Linked DNA regions of Homo sapiens: all the other regions are linked to region 1. The links are contacts of gene promoters, found by promoter capture Hi-C in human tissues and cell types (Jung and others, 2019). All regions are on one chromosome and are shown on one strand. The core of a region is centred on a gene start or on the middle of the fragment in contact, and the rest is flanking DNA. Distances in the headings are between cores, read along the strand shown.

Evidence for each region. The method cuts DNA at HindIII sites, captures the fragments that hold promoters and counts their contacts. A contact is called where the count stands out against the background at its distance.
Region 2: the fragment with the promoter of SPATC1L here is called in contact with the fragment with the promoter of COL6A2 in region 1 in 3 of the 25 tissues and cell types used here (heart left ventricle, mesendoderm cells and thymus).
Region 3: a contact is called between a fragment that was not itself captured here and the fragment with the promoter of COL6A2 in region 1, in 7 of the 25 tissues and cell types used here (H1 embryonic stem cells, IMR-90 fibroblasts, heart left ventricle and 4 more).

The regions. Positions count from the first base shown.
Region 1 is chr21:46,096,310-46,099,443 of GRCh38, forward strand. It overlaps COL6A2 (collagen type VI alpha 2 chain), which reads left to right and starts at 1,803. Exons shown (of 28, transcript NM_001849.4): 1 at 1,803-1,864. It overlaps COL6A2-DT (COL6A2 divergent transcript), which reads right to left and starts at 1,336. Exons shown (of 2, transcript NR_186433.1): 1 at 1,163-1,336. RefSeq lists an enhancer at 1,626-1,920. The HindIII fragment of the contact is 26,496 bases long and covers 1-3,134 here.
Region 2 is chr21:46,182,718-46,185,831 of GRCh38, forward strand. SPATC1L (spermatogenesis and centriole associated 1 like) reads right to left here and starts at 1,742. Exons shown (of 5, transcript NM_001142854.2): 1 at 1,639-1,742; 2 at 1-1,057. The coding sequence starts at 99. It overlaps LOC124905045 (a long non-coding RNA gene), which reads left to right and starts at 1,830. Exons shown (of 2, transcript XR_007067914.1): 1 at 1,830-2,470. RefSeq lists enhancers at 1-407, 408-1,011. The HindIII fragment of the contact is 12,071 bases long and covers 1-3,114 here.
Region 3 is chr21:46,006,371-46,009,226 of GRCh38, forward strand. No RefSeq gene overlaps it. Among named protein-coding and RNA genes, the nearest start is that of COL6A1, 26 kb to the left of the region's middle. The HindIII fragment of the contact is 9,300 bases long and covers 1-2,856 here.

The DNA of each region.
Region 1 (3,134 bases), core at 553-3,052:
ACTCCCCCCATGCACTGAAAGGGGGAAACTGCCACACCCACAAGGCCTCCCCTTCCACCAGGAAAACGTCCCAGATCACTCTTGGTGAAAACATTTAACAATTGGGGCCCTAACTTTGTGCCAAAGATTACCCATATCCCCACATCAACCAGAATGGTGTCCTCGGTGTTGGCCGGGAAACGGCCACCGCACCAGCTGAGTCTCAGGCCCCTCCTGCACCACTTGTGTTAATTGGGGTCTTCCAAGAGGCAGGTGCCATGGAAGCTCTGACGTGACTGGAGATTTATCAGTGCAATGTCTGTGAAGGATGCTGGGGGGGTGGCCAAAGAGGACGGAAGCCTCAGACCACAGGTGAGACCCCTGTGAAGGAGATACGGGGAGCCTTGGCCAGCACGTGCCCCTAGACAGTGCTGGCCAGGCCGAGGGAGAACTTCTGGAGCCAAGGTAACCCCTAAAGGATTCTGGTCTTGTGAGGAGGGGCCTGGCTTCCCCCTGGGAGCTGCTGGCTTGGAAGCAGGAGGCATTGCCCAGGTGAGAGTTCGGCATGGACCCAGGGGAGTGGCACACGGTGCCCGCCGTCAGCTGTGCTCAGGAGCAGCAGGCAGGAGCCCTGGACTCATGGCTACCATGTGGCTGCCACACTCAGGCACACTTAGGCACATACACTCACACTCAGGCACACTTAGACACACACATTCACACTCAACCTCAGACGCAGACACACACCACACACTCACAGATGCACACAGTCTCAGACACAGACACACACCACACACAGATACACACACCACAGACTCAAACTCAGTCTCAGACACAGACACACACCACACACTCAGATGCACACACCACACACACTCAGTCTCAGACACACACACACACCACATTTGCAAACCTGCTCATCAGAAGAGGGACCTCGCCCCCAGCCGCTCCGCCACCTTCCAGGACAGCTCTGAAGGGAGCCCTGTCCCGGAGCCCAGGGACCTCTCCCCAACCCGGCTGCGCCTCACCTCAAGGAGGAACCCCGGCCCTGGCTGGGGGACTGTGACCAGGGTGGGGAGTGGGGACCCCAGACAGAGCCCTACCAGGGACCCCTGTCACTCTGTCCCCGGCTGGGCTCAGGTGGGGACCTCACGGTGGTCCCAGGGCCCAGCACCAAGCCCACCTGTGGTTTCCAGCGGGAAAGGGGTGGCAGGGGTGGCTCGCCGCATGCCCAGGCTCTGCCCCAACCTCCGCGCCCAGGCTCTGCTGTCCCTGCCCTCCCGGCTCCCCACCCTCAGGCCCCAGGAGCGGCAGTTTCTGCAGGAGCTCCTGACCCGGGGCCTCTCGCGGGAGGCCTGAGCAAGCCGGACACAGGACACGGGGTAGGGGAGGGGTCGGGGGGCTGATGGGGGGAACCCTGCACCCCCCAGGGCAGCTGCTACCAAGGGGCGAGTCCCAGGGCCCCCGTCGGCCCTGCGTGCGGGGCGCGGTCCCCAACACCCAGGGCCCCGGAGGCGGACACAGCCCCAGCCAGGTCGTCCGGGAAATGGGGCGGGGGCGACGGGCGGCCGGGCCCGGGACGCGAAGTCCGAGCAGCAGCGGGCAGGGGCTGGCGGGGGAGCTCGGCCCGGGCTGCAGGGGGGTCCCCACCCTCTCCACCTCCTCCAGCCTCCCGCCCTCGAGGGTCCCCGCTTCCCTCCCATCCCCCTCCCGTGCCCCCGGCCCCCTCCTCCCATCCGCGGGGCCGCAGCGCTTCCTGGCGGCGGGGCGGGTCAGGCCGGCGGGGCGGGGTATAAAGGGGGCGGCGCCGGCCGCGGTTCCCTCCCTGCTGCTTACTCGGCGCCCGCGCCTCGGGCCGTCGGGAGCGGAGCCTCCTCGGGACCAGGTGAGCGCCTCCCGGACCCCGCACCCTGGAAGCCGCTCGGCCCGCGGGGGGTGACCCCGAGTCCTGGGAAGGCGGCGGCGGCGGCTCCGTCCCTCGGGTCCCCGGGAAGGGGGACTCCAGCCCCAGGGACGGCGGGGGGCTCGGCGGGTTCGGGGCTCCTCCTCGCGGGGCTGGGGCCGCGCCTGCCCCTGTGGCTCCGCGTCTCTGGGTCCGACCCTCGGGCGCGCGACTTGGGGCCACCTCCCCGCGGCCTCCTCTGGGGCGGAGCCGGCCTGGGCGGGGTGGGGGGGTCCCTGTCTGCGCCCGAGCTCGGTGCTGGGACCCCCGCTCCCGAGACGACCCCGGCACCGCACGCCCCGCCAGGCCCCGCGTCTGCGAGCGGTTCGGGTCCGGCTCCGGCCCGCGGGGAAGACGCCCCGGCTGGCTGGGACCTCCGGGGGCGCAGGGCCTCTCCCCGGGCCGGACGGAAGGGGCGGCGGGGCGGGGGGAGGAGGGGCTTTCGGTGCCCGAGGGCGGGACTGGGCGGGGAGGGGACGCGGGTGGCCCCGACGCCCCATCGCTGCGCCCCTCCCGGCCTGGAGCCCACCAGGGCCCCGCCAGGCCCAGGAGAAGCTGCAGACGGAGGCGGCTCCCCAGGGCGGCGGGACCCGGGCTGACAGCGACCCGCAGCCCCTGCCGGGCCGCCCACACCCGCCCTGGGACTCCGCCGGGGCGCTGGTGGAACCGCTGGGCCTGGGTCTCCACTGCTGGCAACCGAACGGATCGGCCCTCTGTGGAGCCGCAGGTGTGCGGGCGAGCGGCGCCCATCCGGGCTGTGCCAGCAGAACCCCGGTGCCCGCGCCTAGGACGCCCCTGGAGAAGGGACCTTCCCTTTGGGGTCGGAACCCAGAAAGGAGGGGCCTGCGATCCGCGGAGCTCCTTGTTCTTGGGATAACACAGCTCTGGCTTGGAGGCCCCCTTGCACTTCGACTCTGGTGATTATTTCAAGAAAGGCCAGACCGGGCACGGTGGCTCACGCCTGTAATCCCAACACTTGGGGAGGCCGAGGCGGGCAGATCACCTGAGGTCAGGAGTTCGAGACCAGCCTGGCCAACAGGGTGAAACCCCGTCTCTACTAAAAATACAAAAAAAAATTAGCCGGGCGTGGTGGCAGGCACCTGTAATCCCAGCTAATCGGGAGGCTGAGGCAGGAGAAAATCACTTGAACCTGGGAGGCGGAGGCTGCAGTGAGCTGAGATCGCGCCACTGCACTCCAGCCTGGGTGAGGGAG
Region 2 (3,114 bases), core at 492-2,991, 86 kb after region 1:
CCGCCGCAGCATCTGATTCTCCTTCAGGAGGCGCACCTGCTTCTTCAGGTCCGCGTTCTCGCTCAGGAGCCGGCTCATCAGCTCGCCGCCTTCAGCCATGGCGGGTGCGTCCCTCCTTGTCCCTCACGGCTCCTGCAGCCCCATGGAGGTGGGAGCCCAGAGCCCGCAGGCACCACAGAAACAGCCCAGGCACGGAGTTCCGTAGCCACCACCGCCTTCCACGCCTTGTGATGTCACTGCCCTAGTGATGAGGTGCCCAGCACCCTGCCTGCCCCCGCGATGGCTCATGGCCCCGTTGAGGCAGTGAAGCTGGAGGCCCGTGGCGTGCACAGGCAGCCACTCCCACATTATGACCAGGGCCCGAGAATGCCAAGGACATTAGGCAGCTACGGGATGTAGCGACTGTACTCCAAGAGGGGCGTCCAAGCCACTCCCCATTGAGCGGCCCAGCCAGGGTCGGGTGTCCACCCTGTGTGGTGTCCTCAAGCTGGGTGGGGACGCTGCCTTCACCCGAGTAACATGTGGGCTGCACTTCCCATAGGACCTGCCCAGGACACAGGGTTCCCAGTGCAGCTTCCTGTGGACCCTGGCACCCAGGGCAGCAACTGATGTGCAGGTGTTCATCAGGGTCCGTCCTTGGCACCCACACTTGAGGAGGGAGGGACTGGCAAGGGCAGTGGGAGGAGACCAGCATGTGGGGGAGACCAGCCTGGTGGGGAGACCAGCTTGTGGGGGAGACCAGTCTGCGGGGGAGACCAGCCTGGGGAGGAGACCAGCCTGCAGGGGAGACCAGCTTGCGGGGGAGACCAGCCTGCGGGGGAGACCAGCCTGGGCGGGGAGATCAGCCTGGGGGAGGAGACCAGCCTGGTGAGGAGACCAGCCTGGGGGAGGAGACCAGCCTTGTGGGGGAGACCAGCCTGCGGGGGAGACCAGCCTGGGCGGGGAGATCAGCCTGGGGGAGGAGACCAGCCTGGTGAGGAGACCAGCCTGGGGGAGGAGACCAGCTTGCGGGGGAGACCAGCCTGCGGGGGAGACCAGCCTGGGCGGGGAGATCAGCCTGGGGGAGGAGACCAGCCTGGTGAGGAGACCAGCCTGGGGGAGGAGACCAGCTTGCGGGGGAGACCAGCCTGCGGGGGAGACCAGCCTGGGCGGGGAGATCAGCCTGGGGGAGGAGACCAGCCTGGTGAGGAGACCAGCCTGGGGGAGGAGACCAGCCTTGTGGGGGAGACCAGCCTGGGGGAGGAGACCAGTCTTGCGGGGGAGACCAGCCTAGGGTGGGGAGACCAGCCTGAGGCAGCCCCACGATGGCCCCCACATGCTTTGGAGCACTGGGTGGCCCTGAGGGCTGGGCTGGAGGCCACCTACTGACCTCACTCCCTGATGAGAAGGGTCCAGCAGTGCATGTCCACCCCTCAGACCACGAGCGCCCGTGTCTAAGACACCAATTGTTCCTGACTGCACTGCTCCTGCCTGCACGTAACTGAGGACGCCCCCAACCCATGGCCACGGCCCCTCGGGCCGTCACACAGGGCTGCGGCTCATGGGGCCCTGCTAGAGCAGGCGTCTGTCCTCAGTCAGTGCGACCGACTTGAAACCCACCCTGACTCCCTGCTTCAATTACTTGGGAAAGTAAATCACCTCAGTGTTGTTTCTTGGCTCCGAGGGTCTTGTTTTATCAGCAGCCGGGATGCAACAGATGGGTCATCTCATCCTCATGGGAAGGGACGTACGGCAGAAAGCACAACCCAGTGGGCCGGCCACACCTCCAGCCCTGTGACGGGCACCCACCACCACCAACCCAGTGGGCCGGCCACACCTCCAGCCCTGTGACGGGCACCCACCACCACCAACCCAGTGGGCCGGCCACACCTCCAGCCCTGTGACGGGCACCCACCACCACCAACCCAGTGGGCCGGCCACACCTCCAGCCCTGTGACGGGCACCCACCACCACCAACCCAGTGGGCCGGCCACACCTCCAGCCCTGTGATGGGCACCCACCACCACCACCATCCCAGTGGGCCGGCCACACCTCCAGCCCTGTGACGGGCACTCAGGACCACCAAGGGCACTCAGGTGCAGATGCCCCTGGGAGAACACCACCTTCATTCAGCCCGGGCGGCCAGATTAGGGGAAGGTTGCTTCTAGGAGAGAAAGTCTTGAGTCAGGCTTTGTGGAGAAAGGAGGTTTCTACACCCCAAGCGTTCCTGACACAACCCAACCAGCCTGGTGTTGCACCACAGGGCTCACACCTCAGATCAAGACAACGGGGGCCCAGCCACAGCCCACTGACGAGGGCATGCAGGGCGTCCAGGATGCAGGGCAGAGAGAGAAGCGAGGGATGAGTCACGGATGCGCCCCCCGCTCTGAGCCCGACGGGGCCCTGAATGGCTTTTCCTGCCCTGGCTCCTCCCATCATATTTTAAATGCCGTCTTCCTCCCGCTCCAAGGAAACCTTCTCTTGACGTCAGGTACTCTCCAGCCACGGACCTATCAACATTCTGACAGTTTTCTGGTCTTGACACATTATCCTTTTAATATAGCGCTGGATTCAATTTATTAATATTTTAAGTATTTTTATGCTCACAGGGGAAGTCGATCTGAATCTCCTTTTCTTGTGATGTCTCGGTCTGGCTTTGGAACACTGGCCTTTTAAAATGAGCCGCAGAGATTCTGCGCCATTTTCTGGGTGTTCCTTCTTAAACGTCGGATAGAATTCATCTGTGAAGCTATCTAGAACTAGATTTCTTCTGGAAAAGTTTTAAATTTCTAAATCAATTTCTTAAATAGATACAACGCTACTTATATTTTATATTTTTCCCTCATGTGCGTTTTGCTGACAATTGTGGCTGTCAGGTAGTTTGTTGATAATAGGGGAGGCTGTGCATTTGTTGGGGCAGCGAGTGGGGAAATCTCTCTATCTTCCTCTCAATTTTGCTAAGAACCTAAAACTCCTCTTAAAAAAGTCTTGAAAAAGACAAAAGCACGAAGGAAACCAGAGAATATTTCAAGTTGAATGAGAATAAAAACATGACATTAGAATTTGTGGGGTGTAGTTAAAGCTTGATGCCCGTGCTCCACAACCACAGGAAATGGACAAACCCTACCAAAGTTA
Region 3 (2,856 bases), core at 52-2,551, 90 kb before region 1:
CGGGGCCCGGGGCAGACGCAGTGAGGCGGTGGGCGGGGCCCGGGGCAGACGCAGTGAGGCAGTTGCCAGCCTCTCTCAGCTGCCTCATGGGATTCGCACTGCAGCTGCGGCCCTGGCGCGACAAGGGCTGGACTTGGCCAGCGGGACGGTCCCTCACGGCGCTGAGGCCCACACTCTGCGTGGAGCCTCCCCGTGCCCAGGCTACCCTGCAAGGTCCTCGGAGAGGCTTCCTCCAGCCCCAGCCCCCACACAGCTCCGGCCCAGGCCCGCTCTTCCCCATCCCAGTTGCTTTGCGCTGTATACGGCCAGGTGACCCCGAGCCGGCCCTGAGCCCTCGTCCCGGCTTCCTCCCCTGTAAGCTGGGTGAAGGACTCCATGGCACCCACCTGAGAGGGTTGTGGCGAGGCCCAGGCCCCTCGTGCCCACACGGCCGGCGGCCCATGCCTGGCAGGGGCTGGGAGGAGGCTGGGGCGACCAGAGGGGAGCGGCCTGTCCTGGAGGAGGCCCAGGGACCCTGGTGAGAGGGTCTCTCCCAAGTGCTCTCTATGGGACCCCCTTCCTCTGCGCCCGTCCTTCACGGACCTCTCCGGGTCACCCCTGGGCTGCACACTGGGTTCAGGGGGGCCTTGAGGTGGGGCCCCTGTTCCCAAGTCCCGGCGGGGTTTCTCCTGAACCTCAACCCATCCTCACCTGCGGGCATTCCCATCCCCCAACGCCTGGGTCACCAGGATTCCAGGCAGGAGGGGCGGTGGGGGTTACCAAGGCCCGGGTTGCCATGCAGAACCCCCAGCCACCACGCAGACCCCCACGGGGCCCAGGGAAGCTCCTGGTCTCACACTGCACCTCACACTTCCTGTGGGGGCAGACTCCAAGGTCCCGGCCTCTCATCTTGTAGAAACTGAGGCACAGGAGGGACACACACTCCCACGGCCGGTCACCGTGGCCCCCACACCTCCCACTGGACTGACACCTGGCCAGGCTCCGGACACCCGTGGCACAGCCTCAGCCCCTGCGGCCCCTGCTCCGTGGCCCCCAGGCCCCAGCTCCCATGTGCACGTCCTGCCTCAGGCCTGGAGGCCCCTCGGCCCCAAATAATCAGACAATTCAACAGCAAAACTACTTTTTTCAGGCTGGCAGGACTCTGGGCAACCCCCTGCAACAGCCCCCTGCCCTATCACAGCCACCCTTGCCTCCCAGGCACGGAGACCCCACCATCAGGTCCCAGCCTTGGTTCATCCCCAAGCACCCTGTGTGTTGGGATGGCGATGCTGGCTGAGCCCCTGCATCCCCACTGGAATCCCTTGGGGGCTCTCTGGCCACCCACATCTCTCCCTCTCCTTCCCACTCCTCCCAGGAGCTGGGGCTCCGACACCCTGGGCTTCAGGGTCAGGAGCAAATCAGGCCTGGATGGGCTGGCGCAGGCCAGATCCAACTAGGTCAACCCAAGAGGACCAGCCCAAGGCTCTGGATTTGGTACTAAAACACCTCAGCCAAGGGGCCTTAGGGCTGCTGTGTCCAGTGTGTGCCCAAGACCCTCTTCCTGAAGGGATGTGAGAAGCCACGAATGTGAGTTTCCCCGTGCATTCGGCCATTCTCACACTGCTCTAAAGAACTGCCCAAGACTGGGTGATTTTTTTTGTTTTTTGTTTTTTTTTTTTTTGAGACAGAGTCTTGCTCTGTTGCCCAGGCTGGAGTGCAGTGGCGCGATCTAGGCTCACTGCAAGCTCCGCCTCCCGGGTTCACGCCATTCTCCTGCCTCAGCCTCCCAAGTAGCTGGATTACAGGCGCCCGCCACCATGCCTGGCTAATTTTTTTTTTTTTATTTTTAGTAGAGACAGGGTTTCACCGTGTTAGCCAGGATGGTCTCGATCTCCTGACCTCGTGATCCTCCCACCTCGGCCTCCCAAAGTGCTGGAATTACAGGCGTGAGCCACCGTGCGTGGCCAAGACTGGGTGATTTATAACGAAAAGAGATTCCATTGACTCACAGTTCCAGATGGCTGGGGAGTCCTCAGGAAATTTACAATCACGGCAGAAGGGGAAGCAAACACGTCCTTCTTCACATGGCAGCAGGAGAGAGAAGCATGAAGGAGGAACTTCCAAACACTTATAAAGCCATCAGATCACATGTGAACTCACTCACTATCACAAGGACAGCACGGGGGAGGCCACCCCCGGGATCCAGCCACCTCCCTCCCTCAACACGTGGGGATTACAATTTGAGATGAGATGTGGGTGGGGACACGGAGCCGAACAGTATCACCTGCTTCAAGAAGGGAAGTGCCTTGATCCCTGAACCATCCTCCAAGCTGGTGGCCGCACTGTGCTTCTCACCTGTGGCCTCCCAGGTCAGGAGGAGAGGCTAGGACCCCCTTTTGTTCTGGACGTTCCCCACACAGAACAGCTCAACTTTGAAAAAATAGGAAAGAAACCTTAGCCCATCAGGCCCACACTTGTTCCCAGTTTAGAAAAGTGATGTTTCAGATCATCACACCAAGTCTCCAGATAGGAGGGCAAAGCCAGTCACCCTGATGCTCTGAGTGGTGTTTCAGATCATCACACGAAGTCTCCAGATAGGAGGGCAAAGCCTGTCACCCTGATACTCTGAGTGGTCAGAGACCCCAGTCCTTCCTGGACCATCCACAGCATGGCTCCTTGACTCCTAGGTCAGAGCAGGCTCCTGCCTCTTCCTGGCCCCTCCTGTCCTGGTGCAGGAGGAGCTGGGACCCACTGGCCTCAAGAAGGCAGGGGGTTGGCAGGAGGCACAGAGCCCCGGGATCTCAGGCCTGTCAGGAGGGTCTTCCCCTGCAACCATCAATCCTGATCCAGAACCGTGGGGGCAGTGCCAGGCCTGCG